Regions from separate parts of the Homo sapiens genome. Here all the other regions are linked to region 1. Evidence: promoter capture Hi-C in 16 types of primary human blood cells and fetal thymus (Javierre and others, 2016). All regions are on one chromosome and are shown on one strand. Each heading gives the region's core, a stretch centred on a gene start or on the middle of the fragment in contact. The rest is flanking DNA. Distances are from core to core; before and after follow the strand shown. Region 1 holds the start of DARS1-AS1 (DARS1 antisense RNA 1). Region 2 has its middle 300 kb from the start of CXCR4. Region 3 has its middle 240 kb from the start of CXCR4. Region 4 has its middle 220 kb from the start of CXCR4. Region 5 has its middle 200 kb from the start of CXCR4. Region 6 has its middle 170 kb from the start of CXCR4.

Evidence for each region. The method cuts DNA at HindIII sites, captures the fragments that hold promoters and counts their contacts. A CHiCAGO score of 5 or more calls a contact.
Region 2: a contact is called between a fragment that was not itself captured here and the fragment with the promoter of DARS1-AS1 in region 1, in 1 of 17 cell types (naive B cells). The highest score is 5.2, in naive B cells.
Region 3: a contact is called between a fragment that was not itself captured here and the fragment with the promoter of DARS1-AS1 in region 1, in 5 of 17 cell types (non-activated CD4 T cells, total CD4 T cells, naive CD8 T cells and 2 more). The highest score is 11.6, in non-activated CD4 T cells.
Region 4: a fragment that was not itself captured here is called in contact with the fragment with the promoter of DARS1-AS1 in region 1 in 7 of 17 cell types (non-activated CD4 T cells, monocytes, neutrophils and 4 more); the score reaches 9.3 in non-activated CD4 T cells.
Region 5: a fragment that was not itself captured here is called in contact with the fragment with the promoter of DARS1-AS1 in region 1 in 2 of 17 cell types (neutrophils and activated CD4 T cells); the score reaches 6.8 in neutrophils.
Region 6: a contact is called between a fragment that was not itself captured here and the fragment with the promoter of DARS1-AS1 in region 1, in 1 of 17 cell types (activated CD4 T cells). The highest score is 5.3, in activated CD4 T cells.

The regions. Positions count from the first base shown.
Region 1 is chr2:135,983,854-135,986,509 of GRCh38, reverse strand. It overlaps DARS1-AS1 (DARS1 antisense RNA 1), which reads right to left and starts at 1,334. Exons shown (of 4, transcript NR_110199.1): 1 at 994-1,334. DARS1 (aspartyl-tRNA synthetase 1) reads left to right here and starts at 884. Exons shown (of 16, transcript NM_001349.4): 1 at 884-1,107. The coding sequence starts at 1,042. RefSeq lists an enhancer at 1,038-1,137 and a silencer at 1,188-1,247. The HindIII fragment of the contact is 7,953 bases long and covers 1-2,617 here.
Region 2 is chr2:136,417,678-136,420,333 of GRCh38, reverse strand. No RefSeq gene overlaps it. Among named protein-coding and RNA genes, the nearest start is that of CXCR4, 300 kb to the right of the region's middle. The HindIII fragment of the contact is 7,220 bases long and covers 1-2,656 here.
Region 3 is chr2:136,358,366-136,361,021 of GRCh38, reverse strand. No RefSeq gene overlaps it. Among named protein-coding and RNA genes, the nearest start is that of CXCR4, 240 kb to the right of the region's middle. The HindIII fragment of the contact is 983 bases long and covers 869-1,851 here.
Region 4 is chr2:136,334,343-136,336,998 of GRCh38, reverse strand. No RefSeq gene overlaps it. Among named protein-coding and RNA genes, the nearest start is that of CXCR4, 220 kb to the right of the region's middle. The HindIII fragment of the contact is 754 bases long and covers 975-1,728 here.
Region 5 is chr2:136,314,063-136,316,718 of GRCh38, reverse strand. No RefSeq gene overlaps it. Among named protein-coding and RNA genes, the nearest start is that of CXCR4, 200 kb to the right of the region's middle. The HindIII fragment of the contact is 2,187 bases long and covers 230-2,416 here.
Region 6 is chr2:136,284,835-136,287,490 of GRCh38, reverse strand. No RefSeq gene overlaps it. Among named protein-coding and RNA genes, the nearest start is that of CXCR4, 170 kb to the right of the region's middle. The HindIII fragment of the contact is 2,411 bases long and covers 95-2,505 here.

The sequences.
Region 1 (2,656 bases), core at 85-2,584:
TGCAATTAGAAGGAAAGCTACAGGCAAGCAAGGACCATGGCTGTCTTCTCACTACTCCATGGGGGAGCCTCCAGAGAGAGCCTTTCACTTGCGCTGGGATCTATGTGCACCCCTTAACACTTTGTGCCAGACTAAGACACTACCAAGTCAGTTGAAACGACGGAGTGCAAACTCTGGCAGGGGAAACAGTATTAAACCAAATCTCCAAATTATTTTCAATTTCGATTCAAAACTCATGAATGATAGCTTTTTTAAAAAATCAGTTTTTTAAAAAAGCCTAACTTGGGGATATTCGCCCATTGGGCAACCAACACTATGCACTGTCCCTAACACTGCAACAGATCCAGGCAATCAATGCAATTGTATGCGTTTCTTGTTGTCGTTGCCACTGTATTTACACCTCACTTACACAGGGACTGGTAACCCATGCTGCCTTGGCAAGCCAACTGCACTCCTCTGTCCCAACAAGCAGGGCAATGGATTGCGAAGAGGCCTCCTCCGTCCCCAAGCAGCTACGTCGCCCAGGGGAAGAGAGAAGGCGGGAAAGTCCAAGAGAGGAGAAACCAAGGCCCGCGCTTAGGTGGGTGTTTTAGTGACGAGTCTGCGGTTACAGCCGAGCGGAGTTGAAAGGGCTGTTAGAAGAATGGAGCAGAAGTCGCAGTTGGGACGAAGCTGAAGAGAGCTGGCATTCGCCCAGGTCTACAGCCAGCCACCTGGTAACCCCTGCCCCCGCCCCCAGAGCCAATCCAGCGAAACTACCGCGAATTCCCGGGAATTCCCTCCAACTCCGGGAAAACTCCCGGAGGGGCGGGGCAAGAGTGGGAGGAGACCCTGCGCGCGGCCGCCAGCGCTCCGGGATCTCGAGATAGCCGCAGCTCTCGCGATCTTTCTGGAGCCGCACCTCCACGCGGAGTCCGAGCGCGTGTGCTGAGACCCCAGGGTCGGGAGGGCGGAGACTGGGAGGGAGGGAGAAGCCCCTTTGGCCTGCCTTACGGAAGCCTGCGAGGGAGGGTGGTGTCCACTGCCCAGTTCCGTGTCCCGATGCCCAGCGCCAGCGCCAGCCGCAAGAGTCAGGAGAAGCCGCGGGAGATCATGGACGCGGCGGAAGTGGGTTTCCTCCTTTCCTGGGCCTGGGAGGACAGACCCCTGGGCCGGGCTGCGCCGAGGGAGGGAGGAGGGGGAGTGGGGCCCTACAGGTCCTTGTCGGCACGTTCTCCGCAGGCTGCGGGCGTGGGGTCCGGGCGCCTAGAGCCCTTGCCCCAGCAGTGGGGCCAGACCCTCTCCGGACCGCGTTTCTTGCGGGGGTCACCTGGGAGTTTGGCCTACTAGAAGCGTGTCCCCGGGGTGGGGAGGACGGGAAGAACCAGCCGCCCCGGAAGTAGGAGCGCGGCGTCACACTTGAGTCTCTCTGGGTTAGGCACGTCCTGCACGTAATGCACAATCCCTGGGAAAATTTTAATAAGCACTAGTAATCGATATGTACTCAGCCCTCGTGTTCCTAATGCTTTAGCAAGTAATGACAGTACTTAGCAAAACCATCTGCCAATATGTTTAATGACCATTTCCCATGTGACAGCTTTAAAGAACACATGTCATTTTTATTTACTTTCTCCCTCTCAGTGACCCGGTAAGGTAGGTAATAGGAGTTACCGAGAATGCATTTGAGGTGAAGTGACCCCAAATCACGTGGATAATTCATAACACCCAGTGATCCTTCGGTGCTTTTCAGAAATCAAAGTTTGAAACCATCCTACAAGTTATGTGTGCTGTAGTACTGTTAAGCCTTAATTTCCGTCTGGCTCCCTAATTTTTCTATAAGGAGTTCTGAGTTTGTGGTAAGCAACATGAGAAGTAAGGTCATCTTAGAATACTAAATGAGGAAGAGTCACTGAAATATTAATAGTACTAATTATGAATGCAACTTTTTTGTCCTTCACACAATTTAATCTCCTTCTGTTGCCCTCAGGCTTCATTGTGTGACTGTATCTCTCTACTCTGGCCAGGGTTATCTTTTTCTTTAAATTGTTCAGTAAGCGCCTTAAACATGTCTGGTTTTATTTTGGTGTAAACACAAAATCCAGCACCCTCCTGCTCTAAAGGAGAGGATTCCAACAGGTAGCTGTAAAGTGACAGAAACTTAATTGTTTCATACAGATCTTAAGTTACCTTGTAAAAACTAGGGCAATTATTTTTGTGTACTCTTAATCTGCTTAATTACATAAACTATCAGTGTACCCTTACAGATAGTATAGGTCTAGATACAAGGTAGACATTGTGGCAGAGTTATGCCATTTTATAGCTAGAAGAATCTTAGATCATTTTAGAGGTAAAGTAAGATTGAAATAAAGGCCACTTATCTATTTAATAAGTATATTTTGTTAACAGATTGGACCCTAGGTCTTCTGTTTCCTGTTCCTAACTCTAATCTGTAACAAGAAATTTGATATTATTATATTGTCAGTGTCAAACTCCTGTAACCTGGTATCCTGAATCTGGTTTTTAGAAACAGGAAGCTGGTGAATTTTTTGATGATGTTTTACAAAAGGAAAGTTGTAGTTAGCTTATACCCAGCATCTCCAGTTTCTAAAAACTGTGGACATCTGGTGCTCAGAAAGCTTACCCAAAACGTTGGTTCTCTTTGAACATTTCTTCCTGT
Region 2 (2,656 bases), core at 74-2,573, 430 kb before region 1:
TGAGCAGAGCCCACTATAAGATGTTCTGGAACAATCTGGTGCCCACCTGCTCCAAGTTCCTCAGCCATCACTTCCATTATTTGACCCTGTAAACCTTCTTAAAAAGTTCATTAGTCCTTTTTTTGCTAAAGGTTGCCAAACTTTCTGTTACTTGCAACTAAGAAACTCGACTGGATACAATGAACATTCAGGGATCACAGTTAGGTATCAGTAAGCACCCACTATCTGTTAAAAATTAACATTCACCTGCTACCCAAAAATACAGTGGCAAAAAAAAAAAGGAGGCATCATTTTTCGCTCACACAGAAGAAATCCAAAAGTGCATTGTCCAGGGCTGGCGTGGTGCCCTATGGTGTTAGCGATGACCCAGGCTTCTTCTCACTTTCTGCTCCACCATCTTCCACTCAGATTCCATCCATGAGGTCTCCTCACCATCCCAGGACTGTCACTGGGACTTGTTATCCTAGCCATGTTCCAGGCAGGGAGAAGGGAGACGGGGAAAGGAATGGGTCTCCTGCCAGCCAGGTGAATCCCCTTGAAGGAATTTTGCTGGAAGTGACTTCCACTCACACCTCATTGACCACCCCAACCTCAAGGAAAGCTAACAAATATGTTTGTTTTTTTAAGCAGGGCATCTTGAAAAATTCAAAGAGATTTTAAATGTTCTCACCACAAAAAGATAAGTATGTGAGACAATACATATGTTAATTAGCTTGATTTAGCCATTCCATGATGGACACGTATTTCAAAACCCATTCTACATGATAAATATATGCAATTTTTATTTTTCAATTAAAAACAAATTAAAATCTTTAAAATTAGAAATTTTAAAATTAAAAACTAAATAAAAGTTGGAAGAATTGCCATACTCAAATATACAGGGATCTTATCCTAAAAAAACAAGAGAGCATGGATACTGGGTAGGCAACTGGCAATCTCTTTCACACACTGCTTTCTGGACAACTGCTAAGGAAAGGTATTCTGAGGACCATCACCCATCTTTCATCTTAGTTTCCCCTCAACCTTTCTTGGTCGATCCTGTCTAAAAAGATTCCCTAGTCAAAACTCTGGTTTTGAGGAAAATGACAGGAAATTTTCCATTTCCGTGGACCTCACTTGGAATCATCGTTCCACTAGGTCTTTATTGAATGACTTTGAAGACGACACTTAATTCTTCCAAACCTTAGTTGCCCAAAATGTAAAGTCTGTCTCAGTCAAGGACTGACCCAGGCAACAACCTGCAGTCCCTTCGAGGTTAAAGATGATGTAAAATTAGCATTTCTAATAGTCGGAATGTTCAACTACCTTGCAATGAGCAGCAAAGTAAAAGGGATATACAGGTCATGAAGTGGACAGAGCTTTCACAATTCTTCTCAGCCTTTGACCCCAGGAAGGGTTTGACTTGTGCCTTGAGTTCAGATAGAAATGTGTCTCCTTGGATTTCCTTGGAAGTTAAAGAGAAAAAGCTACTGTGACCCAAGGGGTAAACTCACCTAAGGGAGCTGGCGGGGAGGGAGTTAATTTCATCTTTATGGCCAAAATATTTCTAAGTCCCTCTTGGAAGACAATTCTCCATGTGTCTGACTGCCTTTGCTGGAGACTATCTTTCCCAGGATGTTTGTATAGAGAGCAGCCTTGGAAGACAGAAATTGTGCCTCCCTCCAGAGCAAAGAGCAAGGTTGTTTATTGCCCACGTCATAAAGATGGCATCTGCCTCTGGAGTTAAGCCCAGCCATGCTTATTCCCTGTTAGAAAAGATTTGGATTCCCTGAACTCAGGGTACCTCTGTAACACAACTCACTGCACACACAGGCATTACCTGGCCTTCTCCACATTGCCCTGATACAAATGTTGATATTCTGGTTACTGCTAATGTGGAATATAGTAAAGTTATTTGTCTCTGACCCAGGAGTCCACCAGCATCCATTAAACTGTGGCAGGTTAACTTGTCGGCTGGCAAGTGGGGTAAAATCCCAGACCAGTCACAGTCTTAATGTCCCTTTCTTCCTTGTCACCGCCCCCTGTCCCTGACCTACCTCCCAGATGTAAACACTGGCTTAGCACCCAATCAATCCTCGGAAATATATTTTTAACACTTGCAGTTAAATTATAGAAATCTCGAAGTAATTATCTGTGTATTTTAAAGAACTCCCCAGATGCTGAAATATTTCTTCCAGGCACTTAGTCCCTTGCTATGCCCAAATCCTTGGCATGACATGGTTAAAGAATACTTGCCATATCCATGGACCTTTCTCATGGGACACCCACATAAGGCACAAATAGGAGACTGTGTGTCAACCGAAGACTCCAGAAGAGATCTAAGAGTAATGGAAGATGTGTATTTATCTCCCACTTTCATCTTCCCACATTATCTGTCCAAACAGTCGATAGTTGATTTTTTTTTTCCAAGAACTGGAAAGTTAAAGGAATGGGACTGTAAATAATAGGCTAAGCTGATGGTGGGTGAAATGGTCCAGGCTGTTTGACTTTTCAATATTAAAAACCTTCGGTCACCCCAAATACACACAAAGAATGATCAGATAGAAAATAATCTTCTCTTGTTCATACCCAACAATCTGTTGTCATCTGCCAGGGCTACAGCAGAAATCAAACACTGAACAGTAATAAAAAATGATAGCAATCGCCTCTGCTGATT
Region 3 (2,656 bases), core at 111-2,610, 370 kb before region 1:
GTGAGCAAGCACTACTGCCTGAGCCCTGCCTCCTGTCAGATCACAGGTGGCATTAGATTCTCATAGAGCGCAAAGCTGCACATGCGAGGGATCTAGGTTGTGCTTTCCTCATGAGAATCTAAGGCCTGCTGATCTGTCATTGTCTCCCATTACCCCTAGACAGGACCATCTAGTTGCAGGAAAACAAGCTTAGGGCTCCCACTGATTCTACCTGATGGTGAGTTGTATAATTATTTCATTTACACAGGCCAGGCGCAGTGGCTCACGCCTGCAATCCCAGCACTTTGGGAGGCCACGGCAGGCAGATCACTTGAGGTCAGGAGTTTGAGACCAGCCTGGCCAATGGGGTGAAACCCCGTCTCTACTAAAAATACAAAAATTCACTGGGCATAGTGGTGCATGCCTGTGGTCCCAGCTATGTGGGAGTCTGAAGTGGAAGAATTGCTTGAACCTGGGAAGCAGAGGTTGCAGTGAGTGGAGGTTGGTGCAATCTCGAGATTGGCTGCACTCCAGCCTGGGTGACAGAGAGAGACCCTGTCTCAAAAAAAAAGAAAGAAAAGAAAAAAAAAAAGAAAAGAAAAGAAAGCACAATAAATGTAATGCCCTTGAATCATCCTGAAACCATCCCCCCTCCCTGGGTCCATGGAAAAATTTTCTTCCATGAAACTGGTCCCTGGTGCCAAAAAGGTTAGGGACCACTAGTTTAGAGACCTGGGGCACCCACCTAGCAATCCCAATTTTTAAAAATAACATTCTGTGATATGAACAATTACCATCTCCTCACCTACTTAAAATGTGACTAAATGTCTTAAGAAATATTTCTTTATCAATTGGTAATATATAATCTAACCAATTTATTTTAAAAGCTTTAGACAGGTTCCTACTCTCTCACCCTCTTATAACTCAAAAATTACCATTCCTACATGTTCCTAGGTATAAATTCTAGAGCCTGCCAGAATTCTTACACTAGAAATAACTTTGAATATCAGCTGAAATTTGCTGCAAACATTCATGTTTGCATGCCAAGGTCACTAGTCAACCGATCTTAGATTTTCATATAAAAGACCCTCAAAGCGAACTCAGCAGATATCTCTACCAGCACAAAGCACTGGAAACACAACTTGCAAGAGTAAAGAGTTTAAAACCAAGGTTTAAAATAAAAAATGTATTCAACTTTACAGTAACAGCACCTAGGGCACATTACACCTGTATACATCACTCTCCACAGTATATCAGGAGGAGGTGGAGTTATAATAGCCTTACATGGTCTGAGGAAGAAACCTCAGCTATTTCACAATTTGCTGAGGCCCACCTGGGCAGAAACCACACTGATGTTTAAAAAAAAAAAATGGTGCATTATGCAAACCAAGATGGAAAAGATGAATCAAAGTAGGCTTTATTTGTAGGGCTGTTTGGGATATAATATTTCCTTCATAACTGAAAAATAGTCATGCTGCATGTCGGGGAGGAGTTACCAACAAAGCCAGCCTGATACCTCATACTTTCCATAAGGTACACATTCAAGCACAGAGCTTGATTCGTGGCTGTGAGGGTTATTTTCTCAGCTAGTCCATGCTCGCCTTTCTCACTCCACCTCTTAGCACTTGTCCAAAAGTCCTCAGCTTGCATTCTATGTGTTGGGTTGCTTATAGGTCCGGCACATATAAAGCTGATAGGCCCATTGCTAGGAATGCTTTTTCAGCTGTGCAAAGCTCTGTTGAGACCCACCAAGGCACTGCAGCCTTGGGCTGTTGGACTTGCTACTTGACTTTCAAAGCCATTCCCTCCCTTCCCAGGGAAGTTGCTTGTATACTTCACCCACCTCTGTCTGCAGAGCAAGCCTGGCAAGCTTCCCACCATCACTTTAAGGCCTTCAACCTTCAGCTCCTGCTCCACTTTTCCAGAATGGGTTGGAGCCCCTTGTCTGTGTTCCCTTTGTGCCCTACTTCTACCTTCTGTTGTCAACACTTGACAGAATCATATTGAGACTATACATTTGTATGTTGAATTTCAGCCCCATTTTATTTACCTCCTATCTTGGCTCCAACGTGTAAAACTATGACTAGTTTTGAATAGGTTCTCAATCATGTGTAGGTGAAGCCAATTTATGTCATTGTTGAAGCTCTCTGCCATCAAAGAAAAGTTTAGAAAGTAAAGTGAGGCCTGCAAGGGCCTGGGCAAACCCCAGCCAGACTGCCCACTGGGTGGGAACCCCCTCCCCCGAGGCCCACTGCTGCCATCCTCCACTCATGGTGAGCCATTGAGTTCTATCATAATAGCTGGTGGGGGAAGCCTGGCTTCATTGCAGCCTCACTTCCTGCTCTGCCTTTGCTCCTTTCTCAATGTTGAGAAAGGATGCCTGTTCTGATGGGAACATGCATCAGATTGGGAGTTACAGAGATTTGCTGTCCAGAGACTGACAGACAATGATGCTAAACAGGTCACAGCTCCTCTCTGCCCTCAGCTTATTCATTCTCAAAATGAGAGGACTGCCACTTCACACCCACTAAGATGGCTACAATAAAAAGACAGACAATAATAAGCATTGAGAGGATGTGGACGACGAACCCCCATATACTGCTGGTGAGAATGGAAAATGGTGCAGCCCCTTTGGAAAATAGTGGCAGTTTCTCAAAAAGTTAAACCTAGAGTCACC
Region 4 (2,656 bases), core at 102-2,601, 350 kb before region 1:
GAGAATTACAATTTTAAATAGGATGATGTGCAAGGTTTCACTAAGAAGATGAGTGGCATCTGAGCACAAGCCTTAAGGATGAGAGGGAGGGAGCCATAGGCATATCTAGGTGGAGAGCATTCCAGGCAGGACATGCAAAGGACATAGCATGTTAGGTCCAGGACTGGGACTTAAACAGGAGCCATAATCCAATTAGAGATGATGCCACTGGCCATAAACCCTAAGCAGAAGTTCCACGATATGCTTTTCCAGAACTCCTATCATCTGCCTTTTCATGGAAACCCAAAAAACTCTAAGTGAAAATCCAGATTTATGCCAAAGACAAAATGGAGAAGGACTATTCACTTAACTCAAGGCTTCACAATAGGATCCTTTTATTCAGGAAACTCCCCAGGCACATGTAAAATGGTTTTAGATTTAGAATTGTAACTCGCATGATTTTTCAGAAATCCATTTACCACACAAAGCAAGGAACCCCTACAGTGCTGATGCATTTAGTTTGATTTGGTCCTACTCCCTCACTGGTCCTCAGGTATCCCCCATACCTTCTTTGCAAGCTGCCCAGCTAAGGTTAGAAGCCTTGACCCTCAGGGGAGGCCAGCACCAAGTGACGAGGTGAACTCCACAGTGGTGGGCTGCTGCTGCAAGAGGCGCTGGGTGCTGACTCCCCTGGCTATGGTTTCATCTACTGTCTCAGCCACCCTGCCTGCCTCCCAACTCGTCCCAGCCCTCAGGGCTTCACTCAAAGCAGTGGGGCTGTTTCATTGGTTTTTATTAACATTTATTGTTTCTCAGATTCAAGAAAAATATCCAATTTGGAGGACTTAGAAAATCCGCAGAACAAAGAACTGTTTTTAAAACCTCCATAATTCTACCACTCAGAGAAAACCACTGGTGGCCACCCTGGCTGGCTGCTAATTACCGAAGTCACAGGAATTTAGATTGGCTGTCCCCTTTTGTGTCTCCAAAAAGCTTCTCTGCCATAATGCCATTCCCCTCAATATTGCTAGAAGCAAAGGCCTGGGTGTGGGCAGTTAGAGAGGTAGAAAGGATGGAAGTCAATTTAAATTGGCTGGTTCAATTCAAGTTGCAAATATCCATGTCTATAACCAGCTAGGGAGATGCCACACCTACAGACGGGGTGAGGGGGTGGCTATATCTGCAGGCTCATCTTCAGAAAACTGGCTATATGCAGATGCTAGGTCTCTCCTGGGAAGATTGCGAGAGGGGGCAGTTGCAGCATGGTGCAAGATAGGAAAAGGACCCATCTTCCTCTCTCCCAAGGCCTGGGCATGCCCCTCAGGAACCCAGCCCTATGGCAAGGAGTGACCTTAGCACCTAGGGCTGTAAGTCCTGCTAGTGCTGCTGGTACCGCTGAAAAGTAATGTAGCAGTAACAGTGGGGATGTGGATGAGGGGAGGTGTCTATGACAAGTACAGAGGCAGAATGTATCAGTCAGCCATCGCTGCAATATGCCATTCCAAAATAGAGTGGCGTGGACTAAAACAACAACCAATGAGTCTTACCTAGGTACCAGTAGGTTACCCATCAATTGGCTGATCTAGGTTAGGCTTAGCTAGGCCAGATTTCAAACTGCAGGCTGAACCCATGCCATCTCCATGTCTCTCTAAACCACTTTGGAGCTGTGGACTAGCTGGATTGTGTTCTTTTCATGGCAATAGCTGAAGCACAAGAGCACAGGCTCAATTCTGAAGCACATGTAAAGCTTTTGCTCACATCATATCTAATAACATCCAATTGGTCAAAGCAAGTTATGTGGCCAAGTCCAATCTCAGTGGGATGAGGCAATATTCTGCCTCTAGGAGGAGGAACTGCAAACCCACATGTCAATGGGAAACAGGGAGGGGTGAAGAATTGAGGACAAGGCACTCTACCACACTGATATGTCGAATTGTAATCCCCAATGTTGAAGGTGGAGCCTGGTGGGAGGTGGCCAGATCATGAGGGTGGTCCTTCATGAATGGGTTAGCAACATCCCTTTGCTGCTGTTCTCATGATAGTGAGTGAGTTATCACAAGATCTGGTTGTTTAAAAGTGTATAGCACTTTCCCCACCTCTCTCTTGCTCCTGCTCCCACCATGTGAGATGCCTTGCTCCCCCTTTGCCTTTGCCATGATTGTAAGTTTCCAGAGGCCTCCCCAAAAGCCAAGCAGATGCCACCATGTTTCCTGCACAGCCCGCAGAACTGTGCGCCAATCAAACCTCTTTTTGTTATAAATTACCCAGTCTCAGGTATTTCTTTACAGCAGTGCAAGGACATACTAATACACACACAGATGCTATGTAAACAGATATGGGCAACACTCGTATTCACAGTGATAAATAAGATTCCAGGGATTAGGATGTTGATACATCATTTTAGGGGGCCTTATTCATCAATATGAATATGAGTGTTACCTTATTTGGAAAAAGACTCTTTGCAGATGTAATGAAGGATCTTCAGATAAAGAGATTATCCTAGATTAGCCAGGTAGACCCTAAGTCTAATGATAAATGTCCTTATGAGAAAGAGGCAGTGGCAGATTACACCTACCGAAGAGGAAGAGGTAATGTCAAGACAGGCAGAGGTTAGAGCAATGCCACTGCAAGCCAAGGAATGCCTGGAGCCACCAGAAGCTAGAAGAGTCAGGGAACA
Region 5 (2,656 bases), core at 74-2,573, 330 kb before region 1:
GACCATCTCTTGTGATTCTTAAGCTAATATCTTTAAAAAAAAAAGAATTTTCAAATGTCATAGAATTTACACATTAAAAACTTATATTCTCAGAACTTTCAACAAGTGAAAATGTAGCATGATTGTTGTTTTCTCCGTGTGTTGTAAACTTGAATGCCTTTAGAACTAAATAGAGGGCTCTCAGATGCAGAAGAGAGCATAGTCATCTACAGAGAAAAGAGAAGAAGCTTTTGAAGCAATGAATGCCATGACAATTTCAAAACTGGAACAAGCCAGCAACTTCACAAAGTATTTTATCAAGCCAAACCAAAATATCAGCCACCCCATGTAACACCAGGAAATGTTGTGAGGCATCTGACAGAGCACACAGCCTTTTGAAAATCTCATGTGCACCTGCCTTTCCTCTGACTCTCTCTGCCTAAAGAAAGTTTAGGGTCCTATACATCATCCTCTTGCTTGACAATGTCTGGGAGTTCATGAGTTCTTAATCCTCTGTCACTGGAACAGACTTAGAGCATCCCAATCAGTAGTTCTGGAATACAGCTGGTATAGAATGAATCATAGAATTTTAAGAAAATGTAAGGTTCTGGACCAAAACCCCGGAGATTCTGCCATGGTAGGTTTGAGGGCGTCTCCAAGCAATTTCAATGATCACACAGATTTCAGAACCAAGCCTCTCAATCCTTGACTGTAAAGCTGATTAATTTTATAAATCTATTAATTATTGTTATAAATTTATGTTACACGCACACACAATTTGCAGGAGGGAAAAGCCAATATATTCAGGATAGGGAATTAGAACAGTTTTTATCTCTCTCTGTCTGAGTTTCACCAAATTCAGAGCCTGAGACAGGGACTTGCACACAGGTAGTTTATGTTAGGAAGTGATCCCAGGAAACAGGCATGATTGACTAGGAAGAACAGAGCAGAGGGAAAGGGAAAGCCTATACTGGCATTCATTTTCAAGCTGATCATCTCTATGAATTCCTGAGGACCAGTCCCACTGGGGATTCTCTGAGGATCTGTATAAAATCTACCTTGGATATGTCCATCTGAAGAAAAGAATATAGGGGCATTTATCCACAGGGTTCTGTCATCCCTGGTCTAGGGTTGCCCCGAAGGGTAGTAATACCTTCAAATGTCCAGGTGTTTTTGTTTTTGTTTTGAGATGAAGTTTTGCTCTTGTTGCCCAGGCTGGAGTGCAATGGCATGATCTTGGCTCACCGCAACCTCCGCCTCCTGGGTTCAAGCGATTCTCCTGCCTCGGCCTCCTGAGTAGCTGGGATTACAGGCATGTGCCACCACACCCGGCTAATTTTGTATTTTTAGTAGAGACAGGGTTTCTCCATGTTGGTCAGGCTGGTCTTCAACTCCTGACCTCAGGTCATCCACCCACCTCGGCCTCCCAAAGTGCTGGGATTATAGGCGTGAGCCACTGCTGTCCAGGTTTTTTAATGTATCAGAATGGCTGGACATCTCCCATCACAGTAGCCGAGAAGTCCCATGGCAGAAAGCAAGAGAAGTGAGGAATGTTTGAAGAAAGGTGTTCTCAGAATATACCTGCATGAGCTGGTTGCTATAGCAATGTTGAAATTAAAAAGGTGGGCCAAGACTGGGTGCGGTAGCTCACACCTATAGTCCTGGCACTTTGGGAGGCCGAGGCAGGTGTGTCGCTTGAGCCCAGGAGTTTGAGAACAGCCTGGACAACATGGCACAATCCCGTCTCTATGAAAAAAAAAAAATACAAAATTTAGCCGGGCATTGTGGTACACACCTGTGGTTCCAGCTACTCCAGAGGCTGAGGTGGGAGGATTGCTTGAGTCTGGGAGGTGGAGGTTGCAGTGAACCATTATTGTGCCACTGCACTCCAGCCTGGGCAACAGAGTGAGACGCCTTCTGGAAAGGAAAGGAGAGGAAAGAGGAGAGAGGAGAGGAGAGGAGGGGAGGGGACCGGAGGGGAGGGGAGGGAAGGGGAGAGGAGGGGAGGGAAGGGGAGAGGAGGGGAGGGGAGGGAAGGGGAGAGGAGGGGAGGGAAGGGGAGAGGAGGGGAGGGAAGGGGAGAGGAGGGGAGGGAAGGGGAGAGGAGGGGAGGGAAGGGGAGAGGAGGGGAGGGAAGGGAAGGGGAGAGGAGGGGAGGGGAGGGGGAAGAAAAAAAACAAAAGAAAAGAAAAGAGAAAGAAGAGAAGGGAAAGGGAAGGAAGGGGAAGGGGAAGGGAAAGGGAAAGGGAAGGAAGGGGAAGGGAAAGGAGAGAAAAGGTGGTCCAACATGATATGAAGCAGGGCACATAAGCTGCCCAGTGCAGTCCACCCCTCACACTGCCCAGCTTTGCTCAACCCTATGTTAAGTCCAAACTATCACAGAATCTTCAAGGTGGTGGCCAGCTGAAACCTCTATCAAAACCTTCAAACCCAAGCTTCTGTGGTAGAGATCCTAGTTCCTGCTGATGCAGCTGATCCTAAAGCCATATCTGATATTTTTCATCTTCTTTCTGAATCACATGTTTTAGCTTTCCCTCCCCCTCAGCTAACACTATAGTGAACCCAGGCCATCATGCTCAAAGAATCTGAACCTTCAGTTTCTTTACTGATTTGGGGCTGTGCTTCTTGACCTTGTCCATTAACAGTTAATACCAGGCTTTGGAAGCTCCTAGAGACA
Region 6 (2,656 bases), core at 51-2,550, 300 kb before region 1:
TTTATTCATTCACTGAAGATTTACTGAACATCAACTGTGCACCAGGCATTGTTCTAGGCCCTGGAGAGACAGCAATGAATAAGTATTTCAAGCTTAAATTCTCCTGGGGGTGACAGACAATAAACATGATCCGTAGGTAAAATATATAGCCTGTTAGTGATAAGGGATAAAGGGGGAAATATACATATAATGGAAATTGATGGCCCTATAGGGATAAGGGAAAAAAATTAAAGCAAAAAAGGAGGAGAGGAGGTATGTGTATAGGGAGTAGGGGATCCAGAAAGGCCCTGCTGAAGTTCATCAGAGAATGAGCATCCCAGACATCTCAGGAAAGAGCATTCAAGGCTGATGGGATAGCAAATGCCAAGGCCTCGGGTGGGAGCATGCTTGGTGTGTTCAAGGAATAAAAAGTAAAAGTTGCCAGACATAACACTGGATACCCAGTGACATATGAATTTCAGATGAACAATAAATAACTTTTTTAGTATAAGTACATCCCGAATAGTGCATGGTCACATACTTCGGCAAAAAAAAAAAAAAAAAAAAAAAACTCCATGAAACATTTGAGACACATTTATACTAAAAAGTATTCATTATTTATCTGAAATTCAAATTTCACTGTGCATCTTATTTTTTTTATTTGGCTAAATCTGACAACTCTATCTAGGTCAGTGTGACTGAAGCAGAATGAAAGAGGAGGGATGTTATCCCCCAAAAGAAGATATTTTGACATCCTAATCCCCACTACCCCAGGAGGTGACCTTTTTGGAAATAGCTCATTGCAAATGTAAGTAGTCGTGGTCATACTGGAGTAAGGTGGGCCCCTAATCCAGGATGACTCGTGTCCTCATATGAAGATGACCATGTGCAGGTGCATGGGGAGAAGGCCAAGGGGACTGGAATGACTCAGCTACAAGCCTAGGAAGGGAAAGAGAGCCGGCAAACACCAGAAGTGAGAAAGAGGCTAGGAAGGATGTTTCCCTTCAAGTTTCAGAGGGAGCATGGCCCTGCTGACACCTTGATTTCACATTTCTAGCCCCTAGAACTGCAGGACAATGACTTTCTGTTGTTTAAACAACCTAGTCTGTGGTGCTTTGTTACAGCAGCCCCAGAAAACAAAACAGGGAAATAGCAGAAGATGAGGGCACAAAGCCAAGGAGGGTGATGGACAGATCGAGTAGAGCCTATAGGTAACATGACGCCTTTAATGTTTGATTTTTTGTTTTTTGTTTTGTTTTGTTTTGAGACAGGGTCTTGCTCTGTCACCCAAGCTGGAGTGCAATGGTACAATCTCAGCTCACTGCATCCTCTACCTCCTGGGCTCAAGCTATTCTCTCACCTCAGACTCCCAAGTAGCTGGTACCTATGGGACTACGGGCACATGCTACCACACCTGGCTAATTTTTTTTTTTTTTTTTTTTTTAGACAGGGTCTCACTAGGGTTGCTCAGGCTGCAGTGCAGTGGCACAATCTCAGCTCACTGCAACCTCAACCTAATTTTTGTATTTTTTGTAAAGATGGGGTTTTGCCATGTTGCCCAGCCTGGTCTTGAACTCTGGAGCTCAAGCAATCCTCCTGCCCTGGCCTCCCAAACTATTGGGATTACAGGTGTGAGCCACCGCGTTCAGCCACGTGATGTCTTGGCTTGTACTCTGAGTCAGCTAGAGAGTCATTGGAGAGTTTTGGGAAAGGAGTGGCTTGTGTAAAGAGATGAAAGAAACAATCCAGGATATCCAAGAAAGGAAGTGGCAGCTCCAGGAAATACACGCAGTTTAGTCCTGCAGGAGAGTTTAGTAAAGACACTAGGACCAAGGCTGGAAGGTGAATGGCAGCCACATCTCAAAGTGCCTTCTGGTAACTTTAAAAATAGGGATATACATCCCCCTGTAGGCCACTGGAAGCCAATGGAAAACTTCGAGCAGAGAGATGGAATCAAATATGCCCGCTGTTCACGGTCTTTGTTATTTGTCATGATAGAGGTGGGCGCCAAAGAGTTTAAGAATGACTGGACAGTGACAGAATTCCAAGTACCACTAGAGGGGAGGGAAAGGAGATAATTTTCATTAGATCAGAGGCCTTAGTCCAAGCCCCCCAACCCACACAATTGAGATAGCCACATTCCCACATACCCCTGAGGTAACTTGGAAAATACCTGGGGTTTCTCTGGAACATTAGAGAGTTTACCTGAGACTTCTGGTAGGCTGAGGGAGACAGATTCCTGTCTAAAGGGCAGGATCTGGAAGAGCAAGGAGGTGCTCTAAGAAAGACAGCAACAGACTTGACCCTGCAACTGTAAATCAAGAATCCAGGGACCCAGCTCACTGGCTGGAAAACTTCAGTGTTCAAAAGAAACTCAGGGAGTTTCTGAAAATGCAGATCCTGAGTCCCACCCCGGTTATCTTGATTAAGTAAATGTGGTCCAGGAACTACAGGTTGAGAAACTCTACCCTCCTGAGGGACTTGTGGATGTTCACACAGATAGTGATAAAGGCTATGGAGAAAGCTTAAAGTAGGCAAGGAGGAAGGAAATTGTAGTGAGGAGGGGCACCGTTGCCATTTTGGATAGGGTAGCCAGAGAGGGCCTCACTAACAAGGGGACATTATAGGCTGAAATTACATGTAAAATTTTGCATATATGTCACTTCATGAGAAAATA